Regions from separate parts of the Homo sapiens genome. Here regions 1, 2, 3, 4 and 5 are each linked to region 6. The links are contacts of gene promoters, found by promoter capture Hi-C in human tissues and cell types (Jung and others, 2019). All regions are on one chromosome and are shown on one strand. Each heading gives the region's core, a stretch centred on a gene start or on the middle of the fragment in contact. The rest is flanking DNA. Distances are from core to core; before and after follow the strand shown. Region 1 holds the start of AIP (AHR interacting HSP90 co-chaperone). Region 2 holds the start of LOC124902839 (small nucleolar RNA U13). Region 3 has its middle 13 kb from the start of CABP2. Region 4 overlaps LOC107984341 (a long non-coding RNA gene). Region 5 overlaps KDM2A (lysine demethylase 2A). Region 6 holds the start of POLD4 (DNA polymerase delta 4, accessory subunit).

Region 1 (2,700 bases), core at 151-2,650, 130 kb after region 6:
TTTTGAGATGGGGTCTCACTCTATCACCCAGGCTGGAGTGCAGTGGTGCGATCTTGGCTCACTACAACCTCCATCTCCTGGGCTCAAGCAATCCTCCAGCCTCAGCCTGCTGAGTAGCTGGGACCACAGGCGTGCACCACCACACCACCTAATTTTTTGTATTTTTGGTGAAGATGGTATTTTGCCATGTTGTCCAGGCTGGTCTTGAACTTGTGAGCTCAAGGAGATCCAGGAGATCCACTTGCCTTGGCCTCCCAAAGTGCTGGTATTAGAGGCATAAGCCACCACACCTGCCCCATACTGATGCATTTTTACATGACATTAGTGAATTCAATTAGCCTAGTATTTTATTTAGAATGTTTCATATCAGCTGGGCGCTGTGGCTCACGCCTGTAATCCCAGCACTTTGGGAGGCCGAGGTGGGCGGATCACGAGGTCCGGAGATTGAGACCATCCTGGCTAACACGGTGAAACCCTGTCTCTACTAAAAATACAAAAAATTAGCCGGGCATGGTGGCGGGCGCCTGTAGTCCCAGCTGCTCGGGAGGCTGAGGCAGGAGAATGGCGTGAACCCGGGAGGCAGAGCTTGCAGTGAGCTGAAATTGTGCCACTGCACTCCAGCGTGGGTGACAGAGCGAGACTCCGTCTCAAAAAAAGAAAAACAAAAGTTGTTTTAGCCCCAAAGTACCTCATTTCTCTTTTCTTTTAATTTAATTTTTTTTTTTTGTTTTGTTTTGAGACAGCATCTCGCTCTGTCGGCTAGCCTGGAGTGCAGTGGCACGAACACGGCCCACTGCAGCCTCGAACTCCTGGGCTCAAGCGATCCTCTCGCCTCGGCCTCCCAAAGTGGTGGGGTTACAGGGCCACCGCGCCCGGCGCTAAAGTACCTCATTTCTATCATTCATCGATTATTCCCTAATATTAATTGGGCACAACTATGACTCATTTCCGACCCCGCAATGGGCTCTCTTGGTCTCCTTCTCCACCTTTCTTTCCCTCTTCCTCTTTTTATTTTTTGAAAGAGGAAGATCCAGGATGCAAGAGTCCCGACAATCATACTAGATATGCGAAAGAGAAAAAGCCGGAAGAAAATACACAAAAATCATAACACTTTGAGGGTGTGGCTTACGGGTGTTTTTTTTTTTTTTCATTTTCCTAACTCTGCAGTGCTGTTATATTCCATCCACAACTTCAAACAAAGTGCCACACGGCCGCAGTCCCAATCAATTCAATGACAATTGTTAGGGACGTCCTCGTCCCGCCCGGCCCGCGGACCCCGGCCCTTCCTCCTTGACAGGCTGGGGTCCAGCCCCGAGACATTCCTAGGCTCCGCCCCCGAGCAGACGCGCGCGCTCAGCCCCAGCGCAGAGAACCAATCACCATCCGTTTCCACGCTCAGTCCCTTTTGGCTTCTGCCCTCAACCAAAATGGCGCTAGCTCGGAAGCTGCCGAGGTGCTAGGAGTTGCCGAAGCAAGTCCGGAAGCTACCGAGCGAGTCCGGAAGTTGCCGAAAGGGAGCAGCGGGGAAGGAGGATGGCGGATATCATCGCAAGACTCCGGGAGGACGGGATCCAAAAACGTGTGATACAGGAAGGCCGAGGAGAGCTCCCGGACTTTCAAGATGGGACCAAGGTTCGTGTCTACCCTACCCTTCTCCCCCTCTGCGGCGTGGTGCGCATGCGAGGCGGGAGGAGGCCTTAGGCGAGAGGTTGCGCATGCCCAGAGGGCAGCGTCCACTGCCCCTACCGCTCACATGCAGAACTCGACGCTGATTGGGCTGAATTTAAGTAGGGGGTGAATTCGGGCCTGTCTGCCCCGCCCCCTGGCTCGGCCTTGTAGCAGCATTGGTGGGGGAGGCCGTCAGTCATCACAAGCGGGTTGGGGTTGGGGGTTGATCTCAGTGCTTGGGCAGACCCCACGCTGGAGGAAACCCAGGGCCGGGAGTGGTCCTCGGGTATCTGGGTTTCAAGGCTCATGATCCTTTGTAGATGGAAGGGCCTTCTGAAAACACTTAGACCAACTGCCGCTGTTTAGAGTGGAAAACCAAGACCCTGGGACGTGCAAAGCCGGAGAACGGGCCCAGAGGTCAGGTCTCCCAGACAGGGACTCTTTAGCAGCCTTCCTGCTGCACTAGGGGCTTGTTGGGACAGATGAGGGTTGGGAAGTAAAGAACCTCCCACTTTTCTCCTTTTTGCCAGGCCCCCAGATCCAGCCCCTCTGCCCGCTTCTCCCCCAACCTACAACTCCAGGCTTCCCTGCTTCTCCTGTAGTTGCCTCCTCCCGGAGTGCTTTTCCCAGCTGCCACTTGTTTGCAGAGTAGGGAACCTCCCAGGGGCAGCCCCTGTGCCCAGCAGAGCAGTCAGGCAGGACATGCACATTGAGCAAATGAGCACATGCCCCCTGGCCAGCACCGTGCCGAATCGGGCAGCTAAGCATCCTAGCCCAGTGCAGTATAAGTGCCCTGAGAGCAGAGGGGAGCTGCATGGCTGGAGTGATCCGCTGTATGAAAAGATATCTTCTCTAAGAAGAGACAGGATGTGTGGTGTGGGTTCATGCCCCCATGTGCTGGGGGGTTGGTGGCGTTGGAAGAAGGGGCTGGCAAGGGGGATCCTGGATGGAACAGACATCAGAAGGAGAGATGTGAACAATGGCACCCCAAGATCAGAAACAGGTGGTGTTAAATAACCAATCGCCAGCACT
Region 2 (2,756 bases), core at 76-2,575, 130 kb before region 6:
GCCAAAAGATTGGACACCCCTGAATTGTAAACTATCTTGTACAGAGCCTGGTTTATAGTTGGTGCTCCAGTAAACGTTTATTATGTGCTAAGCATTTGATGTGCATTTTCTCATTTAATGCTCATGAGCAACCATAAGAGGTATTATTTATCCTGGTTTTATAGAGGAAATTGAGGCTTTGAGAGATTAAGTAACTTGACAAACCACTAAGAAGCAGAATCAGAGTGAAGAGTGTGATCTAGGGGTCTTGTACTAGTTCTCTGAGAGAGACTTACTGTAATGTGTGTTTTCAGCCACTGCCCTCTGTTCCCCTTCTCCTAGGCTGGATTCATGCTGTGTATACTCCTACAGACACATTAGTGTTTGGGGGCAATTTTTTGCATAGCTTCAACATCCCTATGCAGTTAAAAATATACAACATTGAAGATCGGACACGGGTAAGTAATCTTATGTAACAGTTGCATGTGAAGAGGTTTACTCCAGTTATGATAGATGTTACAAGAGATTCACTGATGGTTTATCAAAACTTCCATTTTTCTTTCAGTTAAAATGCAGTGTTGACATTTTGGGAACACACAAAATTTTAAATTTAATTTTTTTTTTTTTAAGGCAGAATCTTGTTCTGTTTTCCAGGCTAGAGTGCAGTGGCGTGATCATGGATGATTGCAGCCTCAACCTCCCAGGCTCAAGCATCTTCCTGCCTCAGCCTCCCAAGTAGCTGGGACCGTGGGTGCACACCACATCTGACTAATTTTTAATTTTTTTCGTAGAGACTTGGTCTCACTGCGTTGCCCAGGCTGGTCTAGAACTCCTGGTTCAAGCAGTCCTCCCACCTCAGCCTCCCAAAGTGCTGGGATTACAGGTGTGAGCCACTGCGACTGGCCAAATAAAAATTTTAACACGATTTACATACTCCGTTTTAGGGACTCCAATTCTGTGAGGTTTTTGGTATCTTGGATTTCTTTTTCTTTCCTTTTTTTAAAATTTTATTTTATTTTATTTTATTTTTTAGCCAACACCATAGTGAATGGGAAAAAGTAACATTTTTTTCTTTTAATATTTGGGACAGAGTCTCACTCTGTTGCCCAGGCTGGTGTGCAGTGTCACAGTCATGGCTCACTGCAGCCTCAACCTCCCTGGGCTCAGTTGATCCTCCCACCTCAGCCTCCCAGGTAGCTGGGACTACAGGCACACGCCACCACATGCAGCTAATTTTTTTGTATTTTTTGGAGATGGGTTTTTGCTGTGTTGCCCAGGCTTGTCTTGAACTCCTGGGCTCAAGTGATCTGCCCGCTTTGGCCTCCTAAAGTGCTGGGATTACAAGTGTGAGCTACTGCATCCCACAGTATCTTGGATTTTTATAAGGCCAGACATTTACCTCTGGTAATCTCTTGAGCCATGTGTTTCATTTTTATGCTCACAGAATAATTTGGTGTAATGGGGCTTATCAACCCAAATTTCAGAACTTTAAATTCATGTATCTTTTTCTACACTGATGACTATACTCAAAGCATCTTACTTTAATTATATAAATGTATATACTGTCTTTCTCAACTGGGGTTTCAAGAGAGAATTAAGCCCAAAATAAAATAATTTGTGTATCTTATTTTCTCATTTTTCTCTAGGATGATACACAGCTAATACCCTTCTAGATGCATAGAAAAAAGTTAATTTATTATATACAATGGATACCTTAAGGCAAGAGTTGACAAACTTTTCCTGCAAAGGACCAGATAGTAAATATTTTAGGCTTCGTGGGTCATAAAGTGTCTATTGTAACTGTTTAACCCTACCTTGTAGCATGAAATACTTAAACAAATGAGTGTGGCTCAAATAATATAAAATTTTATTCATAGACACTGAAAGTTGAATTTCAGATAACTTTAACATGTCACAGAATACTCTTAAATTTTTTTCAACCATTAAAAAATGTAAAAAACGATCCTTTTATATAGTTCATGATCATGATTAGGTGTTCATGCACGTATGTGAAAGATGCCACCCTTGAACCTTGTTACTATTAATACGTCAGCACATTACCTGTCTGACCCGAAAAAAAAAAAAAAAGGTAAAAAACACTCCTAGTTCACAGGAATCATAAAAAGAGGCAGCAGGCCAAATCCACTAAGTGTTGTTTGCTGGCTAGCCTCCACCTTAGAGAATGAGAGCTTATTTTTTAGCAGAATTCTAATTGGTAAGGGCTGAATCATATATGAAAGTATAGATGATACTGGGATTAAACAGCAATTAGAATATTTGGGGGTTGTGATGTTTGTAAGTTACTCTCAAGTAGCTTAGCAGAATACTAAGCTAGTATGGAGATGAGCAGATGTGGAGAAATGTTAACAGTTGGAGAATTGCAGAGAAGAGTGTAGAACTATTAATGCTACTGCTCTTGAAACTTTTTGGTAGAATTAAAAGTATTAAAAATTTTAAAATAACAATTAATGAAGAATTCACAACTTTTATATGAATGGTCTTTTATATATTATAGGAATGGTCACTGACCTATGTACTGCAATAATAGTCAACCATTATGGTGCCTATTTTGCAACATTTATTTTGGTGTAGGAGTTACGTATCACTATACACATCATTGATATTATTGTTGGAGTTACAGGAATTGCCCTACTAGTAGAATTAAGAGAGGAAGCCAGTGCTTCTTCAACACATTTTATAAAAGTACATTTCTTTTTATTTGTTAAGAGTAACAAAAGTACAGTTCAGGCACAGGGGCTCATACCTGTAATTCCAAC
Region 3 (2,700 bases), core at 1-2,500, 180 kb after region 6:
TGCCCACCTTGGCCTCCCAAAGTGCTGGGATTATAGGCATGAGCCACCATGCCCAGCCAGTTACATGGTTTTTAATTATCACTTTGGTTAAATGAGTAACTATTTTGCAATGACCTGTGCTTCTGTTTTGATCAAATGTTTTAATCTTTTAACATCTTTAACAAACATCCTCAAAATCAAAATCCTGTTAAGTCTCTAACTTAGTTTTATTGCTGGGGCTTACTAAAGCTATAAAAGTTAATTGCTGCAAGGTTGTAGAATTTTTTTTACACCTTCTAGTTAGACCATGAAGACCAGTATCACCACCTTCAGCCCCTTGGAGAAGGTCCTTATCAGGTGCTATTGACTAATCCTCGTACTGTTAAATTACAGGGCTTTGACTTCTGGGTATCCACATCTCATCTGAAAAAGGCATCAACTCCTGCCAGTATCTGATGCCAAACTCAAGTTAACCAAAGCCTTGTCTTTAGAACTGGGCAAAAGTGACAAAGTAAACTGTTCTCATGAGACACAGGAACAGGCCTGTATTCAAAAACATTAAGATCCATTTAATAATTTTTCCTCTATCTGAAATAATCTAATTTATTCTATGCCTTGATGCTAAATAATTTAAATGTTTGGCTACTTGTGAACTTCCTTTCCTGCCCTGCTCAAAACTAGGTAGAGCTGGCTGGGTGTGGTGGCTCACGCCTGTAATCCCAGCACTTTGGGAGGCCGAGATGGGAAGATCACTTGAGGCCAGGAGTTCGAGACCAGCCTGGTCAATACTGTGAGACCCCCATCTCATTAAAAAACAAAAAACAACTAGGTATGGCTTATGACCTTTTGTTTAAAATGTTGCTAATTACTTATATTTTGTTTTACCTCCAGAATTTGAAATGATTCAATCCCTCCAGGCCCAGAGACTATCATATGAGATTGTAAGAGCTGATTTTGAGGGATAAAATTAGCTCAGACCCTCCAAATCAAAGATGGAACCTTCAGGGAATCACTAGCTGGGTATACCTGTCCAAGATTAAACTTGATTTTTTTGTTGTTTGTTTGTTTGTTTTTCTGGAGTTTTGCTTTTGTTGCCCAGGCTGGAGTGCAATGGCATAATCTCATCTCACTGCAACGTGAAGCTAATCAGGAACTAGTTCTTGGCTCACTGAAGTTAATCAAAGATTAAACTTCAGGGAATCACTAGCTGGGTACACCTGTCCAAGATTAAACCTGTTATTTTTCTTTTGTTTTTTTTTTTATCCTGGTGATGGAGTTTCGCTTTTGTTGCCCAGGCTGGAGTGCAATGGCACAATCTTGGCTCACTGCAACCTCTGCCTCCTGTGTTCAAGTGATTCTCCTGCCTCAGCCTCCTGAGTAGCTGGGATTACAGGTGTGTACCACCTGTAAAGATGGGCACACAGATGCCTAAGCAGCTAATAAAACGCTTGTGTTTTGTATAACTAATTGCTACAAGCCAAGATTACAATGGCTCAATGCATAGAATTTATAGATAAGTTAATTTTATAACCTTGCATTTTGGCTTTTGAGTTTTGGCTCTTATGTTGCTTAAAGGGGGTCCTAAAGCTGATGAATGCCTGCCTACCTCCATTCCCACCTGACCTAGAATGTTTAATTGACTATACAACTTTTGACTCTAAGTCCCTTGGCCATAAAGTCCCACCAAGGGACATAATGGACCCAGGACAGGTAGCACACCACCCTGGCATCAATATGGGACAAAATAAAAGCTAGGCCAGGCCGGGTGTGGTAGCTCACACCTGTAATCCCAGCACTTTGGGAGGCCGAGGCAGGCAGATCACCTGAGGTCAGGAGTTCAAGATCAGCCTGGCCAACATGGTGAAACCATGTCTGCACTAAAAATACAAAAATTGGCCAGACATGGTGGCGTGCACCTGTAATCCCAGCTACTAGGAAGGCTGAGGCAGGAGAATTGCTTGAACCCGGGAGGTGGAGGTTGCAGTGAGCCAAGATCGCACCATTGCACTCCAGCCTTGGTGACAGAGCATGACTCTGTCTTAAAAATAAATAAATAATAAATAATAAAAGCTTGGCTATTGATACTGCCTCTGGCATACCTTGACAAAAAAGGGGATATATCCACTAAAGAAATAAATAAAACCCTAAACCTCTCAACAGAATGGACCCCTCTCTTGGTCAAAGGGAATTAAAAGAAACCTTTAAAAATGTAAAAATGGCCAGGTGTGGTGGCTCGCGCCTGTAATCCCAGCACTTTGAGAGGCCGAGGCAGGCGGATCACAAGGTCAGGAGATTGAGACCATCCTGGCTAACACGGTGAAACCCCATCTCTACTAAAAATACAAAAACAAAATAAGCTGGGTGTGGTGGTGGGTGCCTGTAGTCCCAGCTACTCGGCAGGCTGAGGCAGGAGAATGGCGTGAACCCAGGAGGTGGAGCTTGCAGTGAGCCGAGATTGCACCACTGCACTCCAGCCTGGGTGACAGAGCAAGACTCCATCTAAAAAAAACAAAACAAACAAACAAACAAAAAACAAACAAAACAAAACAAAAAAAACCTAGCAAGGCACTTTCCACACTAGTCACGACCCACGGTTCTAAGATGCTTACAGCTAAGGAATCGGCTTGGTACTGCCTGCAAGGACACATTCCTGCAGCCACAGAAAGTTCGACGTCCCAATACCCGTAACAACATATGCTTTCAAGATAATTACAGTTATGC
Region 4 (2,700 bases), core at 7-2,506, 240 kb before region 6:
TTTAAAAATAGGAAAACCAGAAATCCTTTTTTTTTCTTTTTTTTTTTGAGATGGAGTTTCACTCTTGTTGTCCAGGCTGGAGTGCAAAAGCGCGATTTCGGGTCACTGCAACCTCTGCCTCCCGGGTTCAAGTGATTCTCCTGTCTCAGCCTCCCAAGTAGCTGTGATTACAGGCATGTGCCACCATGCCCAGCTAATTTTGTATTTTTAGTAGACATGGGGTTTCTCCATGTTGGTCAGGCTGGTCTCGAACTCCCAACCTCAGGTGATCTGCCCACCTTGGCCTCCCAAAGTGCTGGGATTACAGGCATGAGGCACTGTGCAAGACCTCAGAAATCCTTTCTAAAATAAGTTGTCTTCTAGTTTCCAAAGGGTATTCATGTCCATTAGTCCATTTCACTCCACAACAATCCTAGGAGGAAACAGGGCAGGAGTCACTACTTCTGTTTTATTTATATACATTATATATATAAAATATATATGTTTTAAATATATGTTTTATATATATTATATATATTTATATACATGTATTATGTTTTATATATATTATATATATTTATATACATATATTATATATAATATATATTTTTTTGAGACAGAGTCTTGCTCTGTTGCCCAGGCTAGAGTGCAGTGGCACGATCTCGGGCTCACTGCAACCTCCGCCTGCCTCCCAGGCTTAAGTGATTCTCCTACCTCAGCCTCCCGAGTAGCTGGGAATACAGGCATGTGCCACCGCGCCCAGCTAATTTTTGTATTTTTAGTAGAGATAGGGTTTCACAATGTTGCCCAGGCTGGTCTTGAACTCCTGACCTCAGGTGATCTGCCCGCCTTGGTCTCCCAAAGTGCTGGGATTACAGGCTTAAGCCACCGCGCCCAGCCTACTCTGTTTTATTAAAGAGAACTGAAGTTCTGACGGGTTCAGAACCTCTCACAAAGTGGCTGAAGGAACACCAGCTTTAGCAGAAACTGATGAAAGGTAGCGAATGCCCTTGAAGAAGATAAAAAAAGATCAGACTCATTGGGAGGGGCTAAACAGGTCTAAGTGCTTAAGCATTTGGCCCTTTGGGGAAGTGGCTGGAGCCCTGTATGACTGTCACCACCAACCCAAGCTGGGAATCTAGTGCAAGGTTGCAAACAGACCCTGAAACCCCAGGGTGCCAGAAACTTCCCCCAGCAAGCACAGGTGTAGCTGAGGCACAGGCTCTGCATCTTAGAGCTCCACTCTCGGGCACAGCAGGAAGTCCCACCCTTTTAGAAGTGAGAAATGAGGGTGGCCTGGCCCCAAAGCGAAGCTAAGGCTGCTAAAGAGCAGGTGGGGCCCAGACACTGCTGCAGTTGCCCCAACAGCCAAAGTACACCCCAGCGCTCAGGAGCAGTGGGTCTGCACAGCGGAAGGTGACATACCTGGAAAAGATGGCAGCAAGGAAGCATGGGGCCAGGGAGGGTGGTGGTCCCATGGTCCCAAGGAAAGCGTCAGCCACATTCCATGCAAGAACCTCATGTGACACCCATGTTTGATGATCCAAGAATCTGCAGGGCATTTCTGCTTCATTTTTTTCCCCCTGATCAATTCAGGTTCCAAACTCAAAAAAAAAAAAAAAAGAAAAGAAAAGAAAAAAGAAAGAAAACTTTCAGCTGGGCGTGGTGGCTCACGGCTGTAATCCCAGCACTTTGGGAGGCGGAGGTGGGTGGATCACCAGGTCAGGAATTCGAGACCAGCCTGGCCAACATGGTGAAACCCCGTCTCTACTAAAAATACAAAAATTAGCCAGGCACGGTGGCGGGCACCTGTAATTCCAGCTACTCAGGAGGCTGAGACAGGTGAATCGCTTGAACCCAGGAGGTGGAGTTTGCAGTGAGCTGAGATCGCGCCACTGCACTCTAGCCTGGGCAACAGAGCGAGACTCCAACTCAAAAAAAGAAAAAAAAGAAAACTTTCTATCACTTAAAGCTTATAATCACCCCCCAACACCCTTTAACCCTAGAAGAAGTTTTCTTTCTTTTTTTCTTTTTTCCCGGGGTGGGGGGTGCGGGTGGAGGGAGATGTTCAGGAAATGGTTAAGTAACAAAATCAGAGAGCACGGGATTGAGGTGATTAAGGGCAACAAATGGATGGTAAAGGAAAGTGGGAAAGCCATTCAGTCAGATGATACTGGGCCAGGAGAGTGAGATGAACATGGAGGAGGGGGTGGGCCAAATGATGGAGAGAAGGCTGGAAAGAAAGAGACTTCAGGAGGCAGGTGATGAGGAGAAAGAGGCAGCTGGAGTCAGGGAAGAGGGAAGAATAGAAAGCGGAGACACCAGGGTCGGGGGTCGGGGAGAGAAACCAGGAGTTAGGATAGGGAAGAGGGCCGGGTGTGGTGGCTCATGCCTGTTATCCCAGCACTTTGGGAGGCAGAGGGGGGCGGATCACCTGAGACAGGGAGTTTGAGACCAGCCTGGCCAACATGGTGAAACCCTGTCTCTACTAAAAACACAAAAATTAGCCAGGCATGGTGGCGGGTGCTTGTAATCCCAACTTCTCAGGAAGCTGAGGCAGGAGAATTGCTTGTACCCGGGAGGTGGAGGTTGCAGCGAGCCAAGATCATGCCATTGCACTCCAGGCTGGGTGACACGGTGAGACTGTCTCAAAAAAAAAAAAAAAAAAAAAAGGGAGGGGGAAGAGAATCGAGGAATAAGTCATCACACTTAATGTCTATG
Region 5 (2,700 bases), core at 97-2,596, 150 kb before region 6:
CAAACCCTAAGCCACAGTAAAGCCCTGATTCTCTTTAATTCTGTAAAGGCTGAGAGAGGTGAGGGAGCTGCAGAAGAAAAGTTTAAAGCCAGGAGAGGTTGGTTTATGAAGTTTAAGAAACCATCTTTGTAACAATGAAGTGCAAGGTAAAGCAGCAGCACATGCTGATATAGAAGCTGCAGCAGGTTATCCAGGAGAACCAGCTAGGATCATTGATGAAGGAGGCTGCACTAAACAACAGATTTTCCATGTAAATGAAACAGCCTTCTATTGGAAGAAGATAGCATCTAGGATTTTCATAGCTAGATAAAAGGCAGTTGCTTCAAGGGACAAGTTGACTCTCTTGTTAGGGGCTAATGCAGCTGGTGATTTTAATTGGAAACCAAATTTAACATTCCAAAAAAAGCTTATTTACCATTCCAAAATCCTAGGGCCCTTAAGAATTATGCTAAATCTACTCTATTAATGGAACAACAAAGCCTAGATGATATCACATCTGTTTTACAGCATGGTTTACTGAATTTATTAAGCCCACTGTGGAGATCTGCTCAGGAAAAAAGGTTCCTTTCAAAATGTTACTGCTCACTGGCAGTGTACCTCTTCACCCAAGACCTCTGATGGGAATGTACAAAGAGATTAATATTGTTTGTGTGGTTTTTTTTTTTCTTTTTAGACGGAGTCTCTCTCTGTTGCCCAGGCTGGAGTGCAGTGGCACGATCTCAGCTCACTGCAAGCTCCACCTCCTGGGTTCACGCCATTCTCCTGTCTCAGCCTCCCGAGTAGCTGGGACTACAGGCGTCCGCCACCACGTCCGGCTAATTTTTTTCGTATTTTTAGTAGAGATGGGGTTTCACCATGTTAGCCAGGATGATCGCGATCTCCTCACCTCATGATCCGCCCGCCTCAGCCTCCCAAAGTGCTGGGATTATAGGCGTGAGCGACCGTGCCCAGCCTGTTTGGTTTTTTAAGACAAGGTCTCATTCTGTTGCCCAAGTTGGAGTGCAATGGTACAATCATGGCTCACTGCAGGCTCAGTGTCCCTGGGCTCAGGTGATCCTTCCACCTCAGCCTTTAGCTGGGACTACAAGCACATGCCAACACACCCAGTTAATTTTTGTGTTTTGGTAGAGACACAGTTTGACCCTGTTACCCAGGCTGGTTTAGAACTCCTGGGCTCAAGGGATTTGCCTGCCTCAGCTTCCCAAAGTGCTGGGATTACAGGCATGAGCTACCATGCCTTGCCTGAGATTAATACCGTTTTCATGCCAGATAGCAGTATTCATTCTGTGGCCCATGGATCAAGGAGTAATCTCAACTTTAGTCTTATTATTTAAGAAATATATTTCATGGCCTGGCACAGTGGCTCACACCTGTAATCCCAGCACTTTGGGAGGTCGAGGCGGGTGGATCACGAGGTCAGGAGATTGAGACCATCTGGCTAACACGGTGAAACCCAGTCTCTACTGAAAATAGAAAAAAAATTAGCCGGGCGTGGTGGCGGGCGCTTGTAGTCCCAGCTACTGGGGAGGCTGAGGCAGGAGAATGGCGTGAACCCGGGAGGCGGAGCTTGCAGTGAGCCGAGATTGCACCACTGCACTACAGCCTGGGCGACTGAGCAAGACTCTGTCTCAAAAAAAAAAATATATATATATATATGTGTGTGTGTGTGTGTATATATATATATTTCATAAGGCTATAGCTGACATAGTGATTCTGCTGGTAAATCTGGACCAAATAAATTGAAAAACATCTGGAAAGGATTCACCACTGTAGATGCCATTAAGAACATATTTATGGCCAGGCATAGTGGCTCATGTCTGTAATCCCAATGTTTTGATAGGCCCAGGTGGTGGATCCCTTGAGGCCAGGAGTTTGAGACCAGCCTGGGAAACATAGTGAGACCATCTCTACAAAAAATTAGCCATGGCCCGGTGCGGTGGCTCACGCCTGTAATCCTAGCAGTTTGGGAGGCCAAGGTGGGCAGATCACAAGTCAGGGGTACAAGACCAGCCTGACCAGTATGGTGAAACCTGGTCTCTACTAAACATACAAAAATTAGCCGAGTGTGGTGGCATGGGCCTGTAGTCCCAGCTACTTGGGAGGCTGAAGCAGGAGAATCACTTGAACCTGGGAGACGGAGGTTGCAGTGAGCCAAGATCACACCACCCCACCACACTCCAGCCTAGGCAACAGAGCTAGACTCCATCTCAAAAAAAAAAAAAAAAAAAAAAAAAAAAAAAAATTAGCCATGCTTGGTGGTGTACACCTGTAGTCCCAACTATTTGGGTGGCTGAGGTGGGAGGATCACTTGAGCCCAGGAATTCGAGGTTGCAATGAGCTCTGATCTTGCCACTCTATTCCAGCCTGGGCATGAGAGTGAGACCCTGTCTCTAAAAAAAATAATTAAAATGAAAAAGAGCATTTGTGGTACATGGGAGGAGGTCAAAATATCAACATTAACAGGAGTTTGGAAAAAGTTGGTTCCCACCCTTATTGATGACTTTGAGGGGTTCAAGACTTCAGTGGAGGAAGTAACTGCAAATGTGGTGAAAATAGTGAGAGAGCTAGAATTAGAAATGGAGTCGAAGATGCGACTGAATTGCTGCAATCTATAATGAAACTTGAGCAGATGGAAGAGTTGCTTCTTATGGATGAGCAAATAAAGAAGTTTGTTTTTTTAAGATGGAATCTACTCCTGGT
Region 6 (2,700 bases), core at 59-2,558:
GGTGGCTCACGCCTGTAATCCCAGCACTTTGGGAGGCTGAGGTGGGTGGGATCACGAGGTCAGGAGATCAAGACCATCCTGGCTAACACGGTGAAACCCTGTCTCTACTAAAAATAGAAAAAATTAGCCGGGCGTGTTGGCGGGCGCCTGTAGTCCCAGCTACTTGGGAGGCTGAGACAGGAGAATGGCGTGAACCCGAGAGGCGGAGTTTGCAGTGAGCCGAGATCGCGCCACTGCACTCCAGCCTGGGCAACAGAGCAAGACTCTGTCTCAAAAAAAAAGAATTATTATAGTGGCGTGTCCTCCTGAGCCAGGCACCTCATAGAATCTTCTTGCCTGTTCAGCAAGGCCTTCCAACCCTCCATCCATTTCTCCCTCAGGTCAGGACAGCAGGGTGACAGTGCCTGGAGAAGGCCCTGGCTCCCCTGAAAGCCCTCCCGGCCTGTCTCTGACCTGCACTGGAAGCGGGGGTCTCCGGGGTGGGTCTTCAGCACCTGCCACACCTCTGGGGGAGGCTCCAAGCCCATCTGCTTGGCCCGACACCAGCGCTGCAGCCGTGTGATCCCTGCCAGGGTGGGAAGAAGACTCTGGAGACTTGTGGGGGGTGGGGTAGAGTCTGAGCTGGAGAATGTGTGTGTTGGGGGGAGACAGTTCCTGAGGGTCAGAGTCACGCAAGCGCTTGGGTGACTTCAGAGACGTGTGGGTGACTGGCTGGGAGAGGCGCCTCCGTGGGGCTGGGTGGGTTCTCACCGGTGCAGGGCCCGTACTGCCAGGCCAGGTCAAACTGCCTCAGCAGCTCCAGCTCCGCTTCCTCCTCGTCGCGGGGCTGGGGCTCCTCCCCTGCAATGACAGCTGCTCTTCAGTACGAGGTTGGCTTCAGTCTCCTGCCCCTCACCTCCCAGCCTTCCTCACCACCGCTTTGCCTCTGCCACCCCGCAGCTAGACCTGGTGTCGGGAGGGGAGGACAGGCCACCTTTCCCTTTCCATCGGCCCCTCCGCCCCTCTAGGGGCCTCCTCTAGGCCCCTCCGTGTCCACTCCTCCTGCCTCCCTCACACCTCAGAGACCTAGCTCGGGTGCCAGCTCCCCCTTGCTGTGCCCAGCGGGCCCCTCCCTCCTCTTCACAACCGGGTAGGAATCAGTGATGAGCCGCTTCCGGCCCATGGCGGCCACCCAGGCAGGCAGAGAAGGAGGCAACTGCGGGGAAGAGGAGAGACCGGCCAGTGGGCGCGAGAAAGACAGCTGCTGAGAGAGACAGACGGGGCCAGGCCAGCGGCGGGCAGACAAGATGACCCAGACAAACCGAGAGAGGAAGTCGCCGGGGTCCAGGGAGGGACGCCTCCCCCACCCCCAAAAGCACGCAAACAGGAAAGACTTCAGCCAATGGCAGGCCGCCTATGCGGGGCGGGGCCCTGGCGCTAGCCAATGGTAGGCAGTGTAGGGTGAGGGGCGGGGCGGTGCCTCAGCTGTGGGCCGCGGGAGGAGGGGCAGGCTGGGGCGGGGGACCTGTCGGGATGCCCCGACTTCACCACCTTCCCCGGCCCCCATTGGTCTGCTGTGGGTCCCGAGAGACTTCAGGAGAGTTATCTTCAGCCTCTCACTTCCCGTTTTCCCTTCCTAGGCAAATGTTCTTTTCAGCTTCGCTAATCCCCGTGGCCAGTTTGTAACTCCCTAGAGTCCAGCTGGAGCCTTCACTCGGTCCTTTGGCCCGCCCCGCCTTGTGGGGGCAGGTCTGGAGGTCTGAAGAGAGTTTGGGCTAATCCAGGCCCCTTCCCGGCTCCCACCCAACCCCCACTGGCCCCAGGAGACCTGGCTGGAGAAGCCCATGGGTTCTGAAACCTCCTTTCTCACAGTCTGTGCCCAAAGATGCTGCCCACTCTTAGTCCGAGTAAGTGTTTGCCGTTTTGACTCTCCTGGGGTCCCAAGTCGTGTCCGGCCCGCCCCACCAGTCAGGAAGATTCCATACTGAGTAGGAAGGCAGAGCAAGGGTCTGGTCCCCCCACCACAATGTGTTTGGATCCCTAGTTCTTCACTGGCAAAATCTGCCCTGTCTCTCACAATAATGTGAGTCTGAGCAGAAAATATTAATAATAAACCTAACACTCATTGCACGTACCATGTGCCAAGTACTGTTCTAAGCACTTTCCCACATGTTAATTAAAATAGATGTCAAAAAGTTTTTGAAAGTAGGAAGTATAGCTAAATGATTATCACTGCTGATAGTCACAGGCATTGTAGGGCCCCAATCAAACCACAGTCTCTCTTGCACCCCAGGAGCTCACTGTCACAAGGCAGACAGATGCACAGTTGTCAGTGAGAGGCTATAATTCCTACCAGAAGAGGGAAAGGGTGGGTCAGAGATTGGTTAGGACCACAGGGATGATTAGCATTGGAAGGCCTCCTGGAGGAGGTGGACTGCTGTAAACAATGTCTCTCAATTCTCCACCCATGACCTTTGTCCCTTGGGCTCCTGTCATCACTGACTCACCCATACTGCTGCCTCCCCCTCACCAACTTCCTGGCAGGAGGCAAAAGTACTGGCCAGTGGGAGTCTGGGAACCAGCACAGGGACCAGCCCAGCTCTAATCACCCTCCAGAGATCCCATCCGGTTCTTCCTTCCAGGGATACTGGGAGGGTGGGGCACAGACTCCTGGGCTGCTGCCTGCTCAGAGGCCTCTGCCTCCTCCTTTCCCTGCTCTGG

Evidence for each region. Contacts are between HindIII fragments. The study calls those that stand out against the background at their distance.
Region 1: the fragment with the promoter of AIP here is called in contact with the fragment with the promoter of POLD4 in region 6 in 13 of the 25 tissues and cell types used here (adrenal gland, aorta, bladder and 10 more).
Region 2: a contact is called between a fragment that was not itself captured here and the fragment with the promoter of POLD4 in region 6, in 2 of the 25 tissues and cell types used here (liver and lymphoblastoid cells).
Region 3: a contact is called between a fragment that was not itself captured here and the fragment with the promoter of POLD4 in region 6, in 1 of the 25 tissues and cell types used here (lymphoblastoid cells).
Region 4: a contact is called between a fragment that was not itself captured here and the fragment with the promoter of POLD4 in region 6, in 11 of the 25 tissues and cell types used here (H1 embryonic stem cells, aorta, dorsolateral prefrontal cortex and 8 more).
Region 5: a fragment that was not itself captured here is called in contact with the fragment with the promoter of POLD4 in region 6 in 3 of the 25 tissues and cell types used here (bladder, liver and lymphoblastoid cells).

The regions. Positions count from the first base shown.
Region 1 is chr11:67,481,626-67,484,325 of GRCh38, forward strand. It overlaps AIP (AHR interacting HSP90 co-chaperone), which reads left to right and starts at 1,401. Exons shown (of 6, transcript NM_003977.4): 1 at 1,401-1,632. The coding sequence starts at 1,534. RefSeq lists an enhancer at 1,243-1,302. The HindIII fragment of the contact is 17,225 bases long and covers 903-2,700 here.
Region 2 is chr11:67,218,967-67,221,722 of GRCh38, forward strand. It overlaps KDM2A (lysine demethylase 2A), which reads left to right. Exons shown (of 21, transcript NM_012308.3): 10 at 322-437. It overlaps LOC124902839 (small nucleolar RNA U13), which reads left to right and starts at 1,942; the gene lies at 1,942-2,050. The HindIII fragment of the contact is 8,883 bases long and covers 1-2,756 here.
Region 3 is chr11:67,535,497-67,538,196 of GRCh38, forward strand. No RefSeq gene overlaps it. Among named protein-coding and RNA genes, the nearest start is that of CABP2, 13 kb to the left of the region's middle. The HindIII fragment of the contact is 5,334 bases long and covers 1-2,700 here.
Region 4 is chr11:67,112,244-67,114,943 of GRCh38, forward strand. It overlaps LOC107984341 (a long non-coding RNA gene), which reads right to left. Exons shown (of 2, transcript NR_160735.1): 2 at 49-412. Among named protein-coding and RNA genes, the nearest start is that of KDM2A, 5.7 kb to the right of the region's middle. The HindIII fragment of the contact is 5,381 bases long and covers 1-2,700 here.
Region 5 is chr11:67,199,564-67,202,263 of GRCh38, forward strand. The region is part of intron 5 of KDM2A (lysine demethylase 2A); the gene reads left to right. Among named protein-coding and RNA genes, the nearest start is that of GRK2, 66 kb to the right of the region's middle. The HindIII fragment of the contact is 3,125 bases long and covers 1-2,700 here.
Region 6 is chr11:67,352,238-67,354,937 of GRCh38, forward strand. It overlaps POLD4 (DNA polymerase delta 4, accessory subunit), which reads right to left and starts at 1,309. Exons shown (of 4, transcript NM_021173.5): 1 at 1,066-1,309; 2 at 751-840; 3 at 454-565. The coding sequence starts at 1,162. The region is part of intron 2 of LOC100130987 (a long non-coding RNA gene); the gene reads left to right. RefSeq lists enhancers at 1-571, 572-1,153, 1,147-1,196 and a silencer at 1,377-1,626. The HindIII fragment of the contact is 15,541 bases long and covers 1-2,700 here.